Linked DNA regions of Homo sapiens: all the other regions are linked to region 2. Evidence: promoter capture Hi-C in human tissues and cell types (Jung and others, 2019). All regions are on one chromosome and are shown on one strand. The core of a region is centred on a gene start or on the middle of the fragment in contact, and the rest is flanking DNA. Distances in the headings are between cores, read along the strand shown.

Region 1 (4,752 bases), core at 2,253-4,752, 320 kb after region 2:
TTCCCTGATTACTGAGGAGGCCAAGCATCCCTCTGAGTGCCTGTTGGCTGTATGTGTTCCCCCTTTGGTGAAATGCCTCTTCATGTCTTTTGCCCATTTAAAAAAATAGGGCTAGGAATTCTGTACCTGTTCTTTTTTTTTTGAGTCGGAGTCTCGCTCTGTCGCCCAGGCTGGAGTGCAGTGGCGCGATCTTGGCTCACTGCAACCTCCGCCTCTGGGGTTCAAGCAATCCTCCTGCCTCAGCCTCCCGAGCAGCTGGGACTACAGGCACCCACTACCACGCGCGGCTAATTTTTTGTATTTTTAGTAGAGATGGGGTTTCACCATGTTAGCCAGGATGGTCTCGATCTGCTGACCTCGTGATCCACCCACCTTAGCCTCCCGAAGAGCTGGGATTACAGGCATGAGCCACTGTGCCCGGCCACATGTTCTTTAAATATTTTTTTAATTAAAAGTTTGTTGGCTGGGCGTGGTGCTCATGCCTGTAATCCCAGCACTTTGGGAGGCCAAGGCGGATGGATCACCTGAGGTCAGGAGTTCGAGACCAGCCTGACCAACATGGAGAAACTCCGCCTCTACTAAAAATACAAAATTAGCCGGGCATAGGGGCACATGCCTGTAATCCAAGCTACTAGGGAGGCTGAGGCAGGAGAATTGCTTGAACCTGGGAGGTAGAGGTTGCGGTGAGCCGAGATCGTGCCATTGCACTCCAGCCTGGGCAACAAGAGCAAAACTCCGTCTCAAAAAAAAAATTTTGTTTTGTTTTGTTTTGTTTTGTTTGAGACAGAGCCTCCCTCTGTCACCCAGGCTGGAGTGCAATAGTGCGATCTCAGCTCACTGCAACCTCTGCCTCCTGGGTTCAAATGAATCTCTTGCCTCAGCCTCCCAAGTAGTTGGGATTATAGGCATGCGCCACCATGCCCGACTGATTTTTGTATTTTTAATAGAGACGGGGTTCCGCTGTGTTGACCGGGCTGGTCTCAAACTCTTGGCCTCAAGTGATCCAACTGCCTCTAATTTTTAATTTTTTGAGGACAGAGTTTTACTCCGTCACCCAGGCTGGAGTGCAGTGGTGTAATTACAGCACTGCAGCCTTGAACTCCTGGGCTCAAGTGATCTTCCTGCCTTAGCCTCCTGAGTAGTTGGGACTACATGCATGTGTCACCATGCCTGGCTAATTTTTATTTTTATTTTTAAATTAAATTAAATTTTATTTTATTTTGAGACAGAGTATTGCTTTGTCGCCCAGGCTAGAGTGCAGTGGTGCGATCTCGGCTCACTGCAACTTCCACCTCCTGGGTTCAAGTGATTCTCCTGCCTCAGCCTCCTGAGTAGCTGGGATTACAGGTGCCCACCACCACACCCAGCTAATTTTTGTATTTTTAGTAGAGATGGGGTTTTACCATGTTGGTCAGGCTGGTCTGGAACTCCCGACCTCAGGTGATCCACCCACCTTGGCCTCCCATAGTGCTGGGATTACAGACGTGAGCCACCATGCCCAAGCCTAATTTTTATTTTTTAATTTTTTGTAGAGACAAGGTGCCCAGTTGCCCAGGTTGGTCTTGAACTCCTGGACTCAAGTGATCCTCCTGCCTTGGCCTCCCAAAGTGTTAGGATTACAGGTGTGGGCCACCTCACCCTGCCTGTACCTGTTATTAGTGCAATCATTTGTTGATTATGTCTTCTCTTATTTGTAGCTTATCTTTTATTTCCTTTAGACTATTATTTAAAAACATTCTTTAAACATTTTTTAATTGTAGTAAGAACACAATGTATCTACCCTCTTAACAGATTTTTAAGTGCATAATACTGTATTGTTAACTATAGGGAAAATGTACAGAAGATCTCTAGGGCTTTATATGCATTGATTAGCAATTCCCCTTTTTCCCCTGCCCCTAGCCCCTGGTAACCACATTGTAATGGCTTATTTCACTTAGCATAATGTTCTCAAGGTTCATCCGTGTTGCTGCATATTGTAGAATTTCCTTTCTTTTTAATATGTCATTGGATTTACACACCACATTTCCTTTGTCCTTTCATCCATCAATGGACATTTAGGTTATTTCCACAGCTTAGCGATTGTGACTAGTATTGCTATGAACAGTGAGTGCAGACATCTCTTCAAGATCCTGATTTCAATTCTTTTGGATAAATACCCAGCAGTGGGATTGCCAGATCATATGGTAGTTCTGTTTTTAATTTTTTGAGGAGAGGTCAAAGCAGGTGTATCTCTTGAGCCTGGGAGTTCAAGACCAGCCTGGGCAACATGGCAAAACTCCGACTCTACAAAAAATACATGCACACCTGTAGTCTCAGCTACTTGGGGGGCTGAGATGGGACGGTCAGTTGAGGCCAGGAATTCGAGACCAGCCTGGGCAACATGGTGAAACTCTGTCTCTACTAAAAATACAAAAATTAGTCTTGGCAGGTGCCTATAATCCCAGCTACTGGGAGGCTGAGGTGGGAGGATCACTTGAGCCCAGGAGGCAGAGGTTGCAGTGAGCAGAGATCATGTCATTGCACTCCAGCTTGGACGACAGAGCGAGACTCTGCTTAAAAAAAAAAAAATTTTTTTTTGAGGAACCAAACCTCCATACTGTTTCTATAGAAACTGCATGAGGCTCTTCAGGATATTCTTAATAACAGCCTATTAATTTACCAATATATCACAAAGGATGTACAGTGTATCACTGAATTCCCGGTTCTCGTCTCAGAATCACCCAGTGAATCTGTCACATTCTGATTTAATTACCTGGGATGAAGCTGGGGCATTGCTATGTTGCAAAAGTTCTCCAATTGAGTCTAATGTGCAGCTGGAGTGGAGAACCATGAACCACTTCTAGCTGTTGAGAGGCTCCTCAATTTGAGTAAGAAATAAAGAAAATGTGTATTTATTAAGACAGCACTCAGGCAGTTTCAGCAAGGTGGACGGGGAGTGGAGCATGAGCATGGGAAACCTTCCAGCATCGAATCAACTGTGTAGAAGCTGAGAAGGATGCACCTGCAGGTGGGAGCTGGGAGGTAGGCCCTGGGTCCCGGTGACTCTTTGGTGTAGTTTACAGCTGAGCAGTTCCCGCCTGCTTCTCAGCAAAGGTCCCTTATGCATCTCTCATGTGCTTCTCCCACTCATCTTGCAAGACTCTGAAGTGTGAGTGCCATCTTTTCAGTTAAGTGAGCAGTATATGGAAACTTTCTCATGGGAAAGAACCGCATGTGGCGCACCCTGGACGTCACTCCTTGGCTGGTCCTGGATGCCCACCTCACCCCACCACACTCATGCCCCTCCCAGGAGGCGCCTTCTTGACAGTGTGGTCCTTCCTGGCTGACAATGACTTGGGTTTTCGTCGCCTCAGTTCCTGGCAGAGCTGTTCCCGTGCCCCGGTGCCACTGTGTGCACCTGCTTTAATCACCTCCCACTGCAGCTTCTGTCCTGCCACCCCTTGGGCTTCCTGATCTTTCCTTCATGCTTGCCCTTGAGCATCTTATGGCCTCTTTGAGCTTTCACTGTTTCTGCAATGGGGCCATTTCCATATCGACAGCTCTAGTGTTTCTGTCACTACTGGATTCTCCCATTCGCTTTGTGATGCATCATGGCTCTAGCTACACATCCTGCCTCTGTCTCAGACTCCATGTGTCTGTGACCAGCCCCCTGACTCCCTCCAGCCACTCACCCTGGCTGTCCCCACCATCAGGGGCCTGGCCACACCATCTGCTGCTGAGCTGCAGGACATGGCTGATCAGAAATGGAGCACAACAGTCAGGGGCAGAGCCCATTGACCAAAGCCTTGAATATACCATGATTTCCAAGATGTGTCTTGCTCTTCTGTCTTCAGAGTACAAAAAGGTAAACTCCTCTCAGGCAAGGATTCTACTTTCTCTCTTTTTGATAAATTAGCAGCATAGTTATTTTCCTGCTTGCTAGGTTAGATAAGCAGTGAGATCTGTCACCTCTTTGTCCTCCTCTGGTTGAATTGCTTCTTTAATTCAAGTTTTAGTTTAGGAGGTAGAACTTTTTTTTTTTGTTTTTTTGAGACATGGTCTCATTCTGTCGCCCAGGCTGGAGTGCAGTGACACGACTACAGTCCACTGCAGCTTCTACCTCCCGGGCTCAAGTGATCCTCTCACCTCAGCCTTCTGAGTAGCTAGGACCACAGGTGCACACTACCATTCCTGGCTAACTTTTTTATTTTTTATTTTGTAGAGAGGGGGTTTCCCAGACTGGTTTCAAACTCCTGTGCTCAAGCAATCTTCCCACCTTGGCCTCTGAAAGTGCTGGAATTATAGGCACAAGCCACTGCACTCGGCCAAATATTTTTAAGGTATATTTTATTAAAACCTTACTAAAATATTACAGAAAATTTCCGTTGTTTTTTTTTTTTTTTTTTTGAGATGGAGTTTTGCTCTTGTTGCCCAGGCTGGAGTGCAGTGGCTCAATCTCGGCTCACTGCAACCTCCACCTCCTGGGTTCAAGCAATTCTCCTGCCTTAGCCTCCTAAGTAGCTGGAAATACAGGCACCCACCACCATGCCTGGCTAATTTTTGTATTTTTAGTAGAGACGGGGTTTCACCATTTTGGCCAGGCTGGTCTCGAACTCATGACCTGAAATGATCTGCCTGCCTTGGCCTCCCAAAATGCTGGGATCACAGGCGTGAGCCACTGCACCTAGCCAGACAATTTTAAGTGAACAAAATTTCATACACAATCTTACCATCCTAGTGCACCTGTTGTCTTCATTTTTGTTTTTTCTGGTT
Region 2 (4,360 bases), core at 1,145-3,644:
ATCATGATCCTACCATTTCCAACAAGAGTCCAAGAAAAACAGGTAGGCAATGGCTATTACTAGATTGTGAACTGTCCTTTCTTCATTTTATTTTATAGAGCTTAAAAATGACTACTGAAAGCGAAATGTGGCACATGCATACAATGGAATATTAGCCTTAAGAAATTCTGACACATGCTATAACATGGATGAACTGTGAGAACATTATACTCAGTGAAATAAGCCAGTCACAAAAGGACAAATACTGAATGATTCCACTTATATGAGATAGGGTAGTCAGGATCATAGAGACAGAAAGTAGAATGGTGGGTGTCAGGACAAAAGGAAACGGGAAGTTATTGTTTATAATAAGTACAGATTTGCTGGGTGCAGTGGCTCACGCCTGTAATCCCAACACTTTGGGAGGCTGCGGCAGTGGATTGCCTGAGGCCAGGAGTTCAAGACCAGCCTGGCCAACATGGTGAAACCCAGTCTCTACTAAAAACACAAAAATGAGCCACGCATGGTGGCACTTGCCTGTAATCCCAGCTACTTGGGAGGCTGAGGCAGGAGAATCGCTTGAACCTGGGAGGCGGAGGGTGCAGTGAGCCGAGATGGCGCCACTGCGCTCCAGCCTGGGCAACAGAGCGAGACTCCATCTCAAAAACAAAACAAAATAAGTACAGATTTTTAGTTTGAGAAGATGAAAAAGTTCTGGAGCTGGATGATGGTGTTGGTAGCACAACATTATGAAGGCACTTAATACCACTGAACTATATAGACAGTTAAAATGACACATTTGGTGTTATATTTTACCACAATAAAATGTTTTGATAAAAAAGCAAAACAGGCAGGGCGCGGTAGCTCACACCTGTAATCCCAGCACTTTGGGAGGCTGAGGCGGGCGGATCACTTGATGTCGGGAGTTCGAGACCAGCCTGACCAACGTGGAGAAACCCCCGTCTCTACTAAAAGTACAAAATTAGCCAGGCATGGTGGCGCATGCCTGTAATCCCAGCTACTCAGGAGGCTGAGGCAGGAGAATCGCTTGAACCTGGGGAGGCGGAGGTTGCAGTGAGCCAAGATCATGGCATTGCACTCCAGCATGGGCAACAAGAGTGAAACTCCGTCTCAAAAACAACAAACAAACAACCTATCTAAACCAATACTTCTCATTCCATTCTCTGCAGAGCTGATCTCCCAAGCAGAAACTTGAGTAGGTATAGTGGGTATAAAGGTCAACTGCCCTCTCAAATTACAAGGAGATATGCACTTGCCCTTTGGTAATCCTGCTCCTTCTGAATCTGTTCCACCTGATCAAGCAACTGGCGGGCGCGGAGCTGTAGCTCCGTCAGCTTATCTTTTGCAGCAATCTCAGGGTAGTTGTTGGCATGCTCCCCAACCTGGATGTCGAGATGCACCCGCTACAAGGAAACATGGAATGTATGAGTGGTGGGGCCTCCAGTTGTCTGTTCCAGGGTATGGAACCCACTATTGTCCCTGGCTGTGGAGCAGAAGGCAACATCTGTCTCCCCAATTCTGACTGTGCTACAAAGTTTCACAATCTTGATAAATCAAAATTTGGAAACAAGTGAGAGATTCTAAGCTGAAGCCAAAGAGAAAATCCTCTTACCAGTTTGCCACCAGCGAAGAGAGCCATCCTGGTAGAATTGGAGTGCAGACAGATTTGATGGTCACCGGGCGTGTGGGAGGTGAACGTGAAGCGGCCCTCCGAGCCGTACTGCCGGGACAGCACCACCTGCAACATATGTGAGTGAAGGCCCCACCTTTATACCGCAGGCTCTCCAAGTGCAAGTTCCTGTCCCTTGAGGCCTCCTCCAGGCAGTGCTTTACACCCCACGGGAGCTCCACTGAAGAACGGCTGCGTGGGCCAACGCCAGCCTTACCTTGCCGTCGGGGTCCTTCACTTCCACGTGCATGCCCAGGCCAGGGGTCGAGGGCAGGAAGACCTCCTTCTGCTTATCCCACATCTGGGTACGATAGTTGCCTGCGGGGCAGACACATAGTCACGACCGGCCCTAGTGGGCCGCCTCTCCGCCCGGCCCCCTCCGACGTGCGGCCCGGAGCTCTAGGCAGGGGGCCTGGCGTCCTCGGGGCACCCTCAGGCTAGGTACTGGGGGAGCCAGCGACCCGGCTGGGCTCGGGAGGAGGGAGCGCCGCCGAGGGCTGAGCTGGGTACAAAGGGCCTCCCCACCCTCAGCCCGCCTGACCGATGACCATGGTCTCGTCGGGGATTTCCTCGATGAAACAGCGCTTCTCGGTCTCGCCGATGTGGAAGTAGAGCCCCTGGGCGCCTGTGGCGCACAGCGCGAGAAGCAGCAGGGCCTGCCGCCCCATCGCCCGCAGAGGCCCAGCCCCGACACCTGCCATCGCGCCTCAGCCCCTAAGCGCCTGCGCACATTTGCGCATCGCTCTGCGCCTGCGCGCCACCCTAGCGACCCTGAGAGTTAGGGGAAGAGGACGCCTGCGCAGTGATATGTACTCGCCGTCTCCTGCAACTCCATCCGTACCGAACACTGCCGCGCCCCGCCCCCTCACACAGCCCGGCGCCCGCCTACCCCCGCAACGAGAGTAGAGGGCGCATGCGCAATGACGTTCGCCCTTAATTTCTCGCCCCTTACCCCGCAGCTTACCTCCGGCATCTCGCAGGGGAGGCACGCCTGCGCAGTCACGCCCGCCCTCGGCCCCAGTCAGCGATTTGGGTCTCGGAGCACCAAGGAGACGGTGGACGGAATCTGACCAGGCTTGGTGGCTACGATGGCCTGAAGCGTGCCTTTTGGGTTCTCAGCTCGGGCTCACAAGTGTTTTCTGTGCTAAATACAAAAAGCCCTGTGATGTTTTGCTTTGCGTGTCCACCTATCTGACTCGTAAGAACCGAGGCTGAATCCAGACCCACACTCTGTCACGTCGGGAGAGCCTGCCGCGGCGAGCCTCTGCGAGCGGGCATTTCTTGGGTGGGGACCAAAAGCCCAGTGCTGCCATAGTTTCGGATCATTCTTTTAAGAAGCTGGGGCCGGGCGCGGTGGCTGGCACCTGTAATCCCAGCACTCTGGGAGGCTGAGGCGGGCGGATCCCTTGAGCCCAGGAGTTCGGGACCAGCCTGGGCAACATGGTGAAACCCCCGTCTCTACAAAAAATTAACCGGTGTGGTGGTGTGCGCATGTAGTCCCAGCTACTTGGGAGGCTGAGGCAGGAGAATCGCTTGAACCCAGGAGGTCGAGGATGCATTAAGCAGTGATCGCGCTCCAGCCTGGGCGACCGAGGGTGATACCTTGTCTTAAAAAAAAGGTGGGAGAGTGGAACGAAAACTTGGAATAAGTAGGGTCATGGAGCTTGTTTACATCCCCTAGTTACAGCACATCCTTTTGAAAGTGAAAAACAAACTGGAATGTTACTTAGTGGGCATGGAATCGAAGCAACGGAAGGTTAAAACTGTTTTTATCAAGGCCAGGCGGGCGCGGTGGCTCACGCCTGTAATGCTAACACTTTGGGCGGCCAAGGCTGGTGGATCATCTGAGGTTAGAAATTCGAGACCAGTTGGGCCAACAAGGTGAAACCCCCGTCTCTACTAAAAATACATTTTATCAACAGAATTTCGAAACTTTTATATAATAGAATAATTACAATGAACTTTCATAAAGAACTTGAGCATACCTGGATTTTGGTATCCGTAGGGGTCCAGGAATTATCCCCCTTGGATAATAACGGAGGGCTGTACTCATCATCCAACTTCAACAACAGTTTGCTGCCTTTCTCATTTCATGTATCCCTTTCTGCATTTTTTTTTGAAGTGCTGTATATTAAAGCAAATCCTGGACATCATGTCATTTCACCTATAAATACGTCAGTGTGTGTCTCTAACAGATAAGGACTTTATACTATTATCACACCCACCAAAATTTTAAAAATTATTTAACATCACTTAATACCTAGTATGTGTTTAATTTTCCCCATTGCCTTAAAAAATTTTGTACATTAGATATTTAGGGTCCAAACAAGGTTTACTTACTGCATTTCATACAAATATATGTCTCTTAATATATAACAATTTTGGCTGGGCACAGTGGCTCATGCCTGTAATCCCAGCACTTTGGGAGGCTGAGGTGGAAGGATCACTTGAGGTCAGGAGTTTGAGACCAGCCTGGCCAACATGGTGAAACCCTGTTTCTACTAAAAATACAAAAATTAGCCAGGTGTGGTGGTGCACACCTGTAATCTCAGCTACTTGGGAGGCTGAGGCAGGAGAATTGCTAGAATCAGGGAGGTGGAGGTTGCAGTGGGCTGAGATGATGCCACTGTACTCCAGCCTAGGCAACAGAGTGAGATTCTATCTCAAAACAAACAAAAACAGGGCCGGGCG
Region 3 (4,649 bases), core at 127-2,626, 260 kb before region 2:
AAAAAAAGGATCTGTTGCTGGATGTGTAAGAGGAAATCTCGCCAGCACCGCCAGCGCCCCCACCGCCTGCACTGAAGGGACGGAGGAGGATGGGGGAGGACGCAGGAGGATGGGGCTCTGGCCCAGTCAGGCTGGAGATTCAGGAGTTCTGAAGCTAGCCCTAGGGATGCCAGGTGCAGCCACCTTGATTCTCAGAACGGGAGACCCCAGGCCAGACAGGAGGCCCCTGAGGCGCTCCCCATCTCACCCCAGGGGCAAAGCCGGGTCCGGGGACCACGAACCAGACCTTCGCCCTACACTGCTCATACTGCCAAGGAGAGAACGGGAGCCACAGCACCTGTTCCCCGTGAGGTCCCACTTCAAACAAACCTTCAAAGCCCCTTCCCCTTTAGGGCGCCCCCGCCAACAGTCCAAAATCCAGCCCCCATCCACCTCGATGACCCTGAAATTTGCAATCCAGTCAGGCTCTTAGTCTCTCCCCGCTATCCCCATGACCTGATCCAGGCTCCCTGACCTCGTCCTCCCCACACCTCCAAATTCCTGTTTCCAGAAGAATCTGGGGGAAAATCCTCCAGAACCCAGATTCCCCAGGGGACCTACAGCAGAGGCTCTCCCACGCCGGCACCCCCAGCGCGGATGGGGCCACGCGCAGGAGCAGGCGCAAGCAGGTCCCGCCACCCCCGCCGCCTGCCGCTCGGGTGGGGGTGGGGACAGCGCACCCGCGTCGGGGACGACCCTCTGGGGCCGCAGCCGACCCCTCCCGGCGCTCCAGGCCCGGGGGCCACCCCCGCGCGCCCCTCCTCTCTGACCTCCCCGCCGCCAAATGCGTCACGTCTGCCGGGCGCTCCGGGGACACCTGCTGCCGCCCCCGCCGCGCCAAGTCGCGAGCCCGGAGCCCCGGCCCGGCAGCCGCGCTGGGCAGAGCTGGGCAGGGCCGCGCGCGCTGAGGTCAGGCAGCCAGGCCCGGGGCCGGGGGCTCGCGGGTCGGGGCCGCGCGGGGCCGTGCGCTTGGGCCCGGAGCCCAGAGAAGCCGGCGGCGCGCGGGCCCGCAGTGCGCCTGGAGCCGGCGGCGCGGAGGGTCCCGGAGGTCCCGGCCCTCTGGGGTCCCCGGCCCAGCCCGCGCGCGCCGCTGCTCTTACTTGCCAATATCCTCGTAGAGCTGGTACTCGTCGGTGAAGCGGGTGCAGGTCACCGTGGTGGCCATGGCGGCGGCGGACGGGCTCGGCGTGCGCTCGGCTGCGCTCGGGCGGCGGCGACTCCGGCTCCCGCTCGCGGGCACGGCGGCGACACGGGCGCGGGCGCGGGAGACACCTCGGCTCGCGGCGCCAGGCGGGGGCCGGGCTGGGCTGCGCCGGGCGGCGAGCGCACGCGAGATCTGCTCGCTCCGTCCTCGCCAGGAGCGCGCCGCACACCTACGCGCGGGGAGGCGCGGGCGCCGCTGTCACCGCCGCCGCCGCCGCGCCCGCCCCGCCCGCCGCCCCCTGCACGCGCCTTCCCCGCGCCCTGCACACGCTGCTCCTGCACCCGCACCCGCAGGGCACCGGCGCCCTGCATCTGCACACGCGCCCTGCACACACACCCTTGCCCCGCACCCGCAACGCACCTGCACCTGCACCTGCACTCACACGCGCGCCCGCCCCCGCCCGCCCCCGCACCCCACACACACACCCGCGCCCTGTACTGACGCCTTCATCCTCTACCCGCACCACGCCCGCACCTCGCGCACGCAGGCCACTTGCTGCTGCCGACCCCTCGCTCTCACATAACACAGAAGAGTGCACATAATGAACGCAGCCTCCTCTCTCTCTCTCGAAGGCCCACCTAGCCTGACAGCAGGAGGGGACTGGGGCCCACATGGAGGTAGAGGGCTCATGTGCTGCCCTCCACAGGACTCATTCCTCACACCCTCAGGAAGAGATGCTGCCAGATCCCTTCTGCCCAGTCTCCATCAGCCACACATGCCCCAAAGGCTGCCTGGCCAGGAGGAACCGCCCAGAAGGCAGTGTACACACTGGGTCACTAGCATGAGAAAGTGAAAGGGTGGGGCCTGCCCCCTCCCCTTGGCCCCAGCCCCTCCCTTCCCCCTCACTTCTCCAAAGACTGGTTGCTGGGTTGTCTGGAATGGAGGTCCCAGGAGGCAACATTCGGAGTCCAGACCAACGGACCCTGAGCCAGGGGAACAGGGGCTGCTCCACCAGCAATTTGGGGGGCCTGAGAGCTCACAGCCACCCTGATCAGGTAAAGGTGCACATTCTCTCCTTTTCCAGCACGGTCCACCTGCCTGCCCCCTGCTTTTGCCTGGAGGAGGAGGGCCCACACACCCCAACCCCCTCCTGAAAGCAGCCAAGGAGGAGGAGAGTGCAGGGAGGCAGGCAGGAGGCAGGGCGACCCGGTTTCCCACAAAACAGCCTTCCCTGAGGCCTGGCACCAGGGCTGCTGTCCAGAACCGGGACTTTAGACCACTGGGCTCCAGCATCCCCACACTCTTCTCTGACGGGGTCCATCCTGGGCAGGCTCTGAGGAGGGGGTTTCCAGCAGCCAGCTCTGGATTTGGGTCACGCTGCTGCCCTGATATGACTTCCTTACTGCTCCCCAAGGACCAATTCTGGGCCTATCCTGCTCATCCCTCTCACCTCGTGGCCAGCCCAGGGCAAGCCCCAGAAGCCACAATAAATGTCATGTGGATAAGGGAGGGGATAAAGGCATTCTGAGTGCTGGCAGCCAGGGCCCTTCTGGGCCAGGATGCATTTGGCATGGGACTGCTGGGCAATTAGTAGACCACACGGCAACAAGTCCCTGCCATCGACCCACCTGCACCCAGAAGACACTAGAGGACGAGAAATTCTCAGGCCAAAGGCAAATGCTGGGCCACCTGGGGAAGTCCCCAGCTGAGGAAGCAGAGGGATCCTGGCCTTGACTTCAGCAGGACCATAGCAGGAAGGGAGACCCCGTCTATGTCAGACTTGGACTCAGAGAATCCTGGGCCATCCTAACAGACAGACTGGCATGGGCTCGAGAAAGGACTGGAGGCCAAGTCTGAGGTTTGTTCTTGGCGTTGTGTTTAACCCCACAGGAGTTTCTTCCAGCACCTGCTGGATGCATCCATATTTTCCCTTTCTGAGCTCTGGAAAGACGAGGTAGGGCCACACAACAGAATACAAATAACAAGCCAAGCACGGTGGCTCACGCCTGTAACAAGCTCACAGTGGCTCACAGCCCCAGCTATGTGGGCCAGGCTGGTCTCAAACTCCTGACCTCAGGTGATCCACCCACCTCGGCCTCCCAAAGTGCTAGGATTACAGGCATGAGCCACTGCACCCGGCCGAGGTCACCTTTCAAAAGTTGAGAAGCTGCCCAGGACCAGGGTTACACAAGAATGTGGGGTCACTAAGAGATGCAATTTGAGATTCATTGTATCCTATACTTCTTCCCGCCTTTTGTACCTGTTAGCACCTGGGACCCCCAGGCAGTCCCTCCTCCGAGCTGAAATATTAGAGGTATGAAGCAGAGCTACCCTGGCGAGCGCAGGAAGGTTGGCATGATTGGGCACCAGACAGTGGGGAAGGGCTGGGCTATCAGAGGCAGCCAGACTGTCCCTACCCAGACAGCTTGACCCCACACTAACACTCAAAAAACAGCCCAGTCCCCACCCTCAGACCCAGACGGCTTCTCCCTATCATAGGAAAATGGGTAGAAGGGAGAAAGACTTCCAGCCATGACTCTCTGGTCCCAGATTCCAGAAGCCCTCTCATCTGGCTTTGGCTCTGGTCAGAGAGGCCCAGACTTCCCCCTCTTCCCACCCCTGCCTTCAGGAAGGGCCCACTTCCACCCCAACCCCCGTGTCATCTCTGCCTCCCACCTTGTCCTTTCAAGCTTGCTTTCGTAAGCGAGGAGGGCTCTCCCTCCCAGGTGGCAGCTGGGGAGGGTGTGGGGAATATCAGTTCTGGGAGGTTATTGTTAGGACGGTCACCATGGCAACAAGCATCACATCTGCAGAGCCAAAAGTGCTGCACATGGGGTTCATTATCCCAAAGAAAGCCACGCCTCCCCTGTCCCCCTCACCTCCAGGGACTGCTGTCATGTGGAAGGGTGTCACTGCACCTCCTCTCTCAGGCCCAGCCATCCACCAGGGAGAGCAGGCTGTGGTTCCCAGAGCAGGAAGACCCTAGTCCATCCATCTCCCATCATCTGGCCCTTGACATGGCAGCCCATACAGGACACAGTGGCAAGCACATGGAGTGGCTATGGTGGTGATGGTTACGATAATGATGGTAATGATGGTGGTGGTGGTGGTGATAATGATAATGATGGTAATGGTGGTGCTGGTGGTGGTGGTAATAATGATAATGATGGTGTTGGTGACAATGATGGTGATGGTCATGGTGGTGGTGATGGTGGTGCTGCTGATGGTGGTGGTGGTGGGGATGGTGATGGTGGTGGTGATAATGATGGTGTTGGTGACAATGATGATGGTGGTGATGGTGATGGTGATGATGAAGGCCATAGCTACAATTTACAATTCACTCATCACCTGCCCTAAACCATTCTAAAAGTCCAACATCCACCATTTTGAATAAACTTCATAGCATTATCATTGCCTCCCTTTTACAAATGAGGAAATTGAGACACAGACTCTAACTGGCCTCAGG

The links. Contacts are between HindIII fragments. The study calls those that stand out against the background at their distance.
Region 1: a fragment that was not itself captured here is called in contact with the fragment with the promoter of TMED4 in region 2 in 1 of the 25 tissues and cell types used here (H1 embryonic stem cells).
Region 3: the fragment with the promoter of CAMK2B here is called in contact with the fragment with the promoter of TMED4 in region 2 in 1 of the 25 tissues and cell types used here (heart right ventricle).

The regions. Positions count from the first base shown.
Region 1 is chr7:44,902,149-44,906,900 of GRCh38, forward strand. LOC105375262 (a long non-coding RNA gene) reads left to right here and starts at 2,553. Exons shown (of 2, transcript XR_927228.2): 1 at 2,553-3,844. The HindIII fragment of the contact is 4,847 bases long and covers 1,080-4,752 here.
Region 2 is chr7:44,579,837-44,584,196 of GRCh38, forward strand. TMED4 (transmembrane p24 trafficking protein 4) reads right to left here and starts at 2,395. Exons shown (of 5, transcript NM_182547.4): 1 at 2,211-2,395; 2 at 1,887-1,987; 3 at 1,613-1,738; 4 at 1,257-1,403. The coding sequence starts at 2,370. RefSeq lists silencers at 2,019-2,118, 2,519-2,678 and an enhancer at 2,769-2,878. The HindIII fragment of the contact is 5,448 bases long and covers 167-4,360 here.
Region 3 is chr7:44,324,218-44,328,866 of GRCh38, forward strand. It overlaps CAMK2B (calcium/calmodulin dependent protein kinase II beta), which reads right to left and starts at 1,377. Exons shown (of 24, transcript NM_001220.5): 1 at 1,140-1,377. The coding sequence starts at 1,204. The HindIII fragment of the contact is 12,993 bases long and covers 1-4,649 here.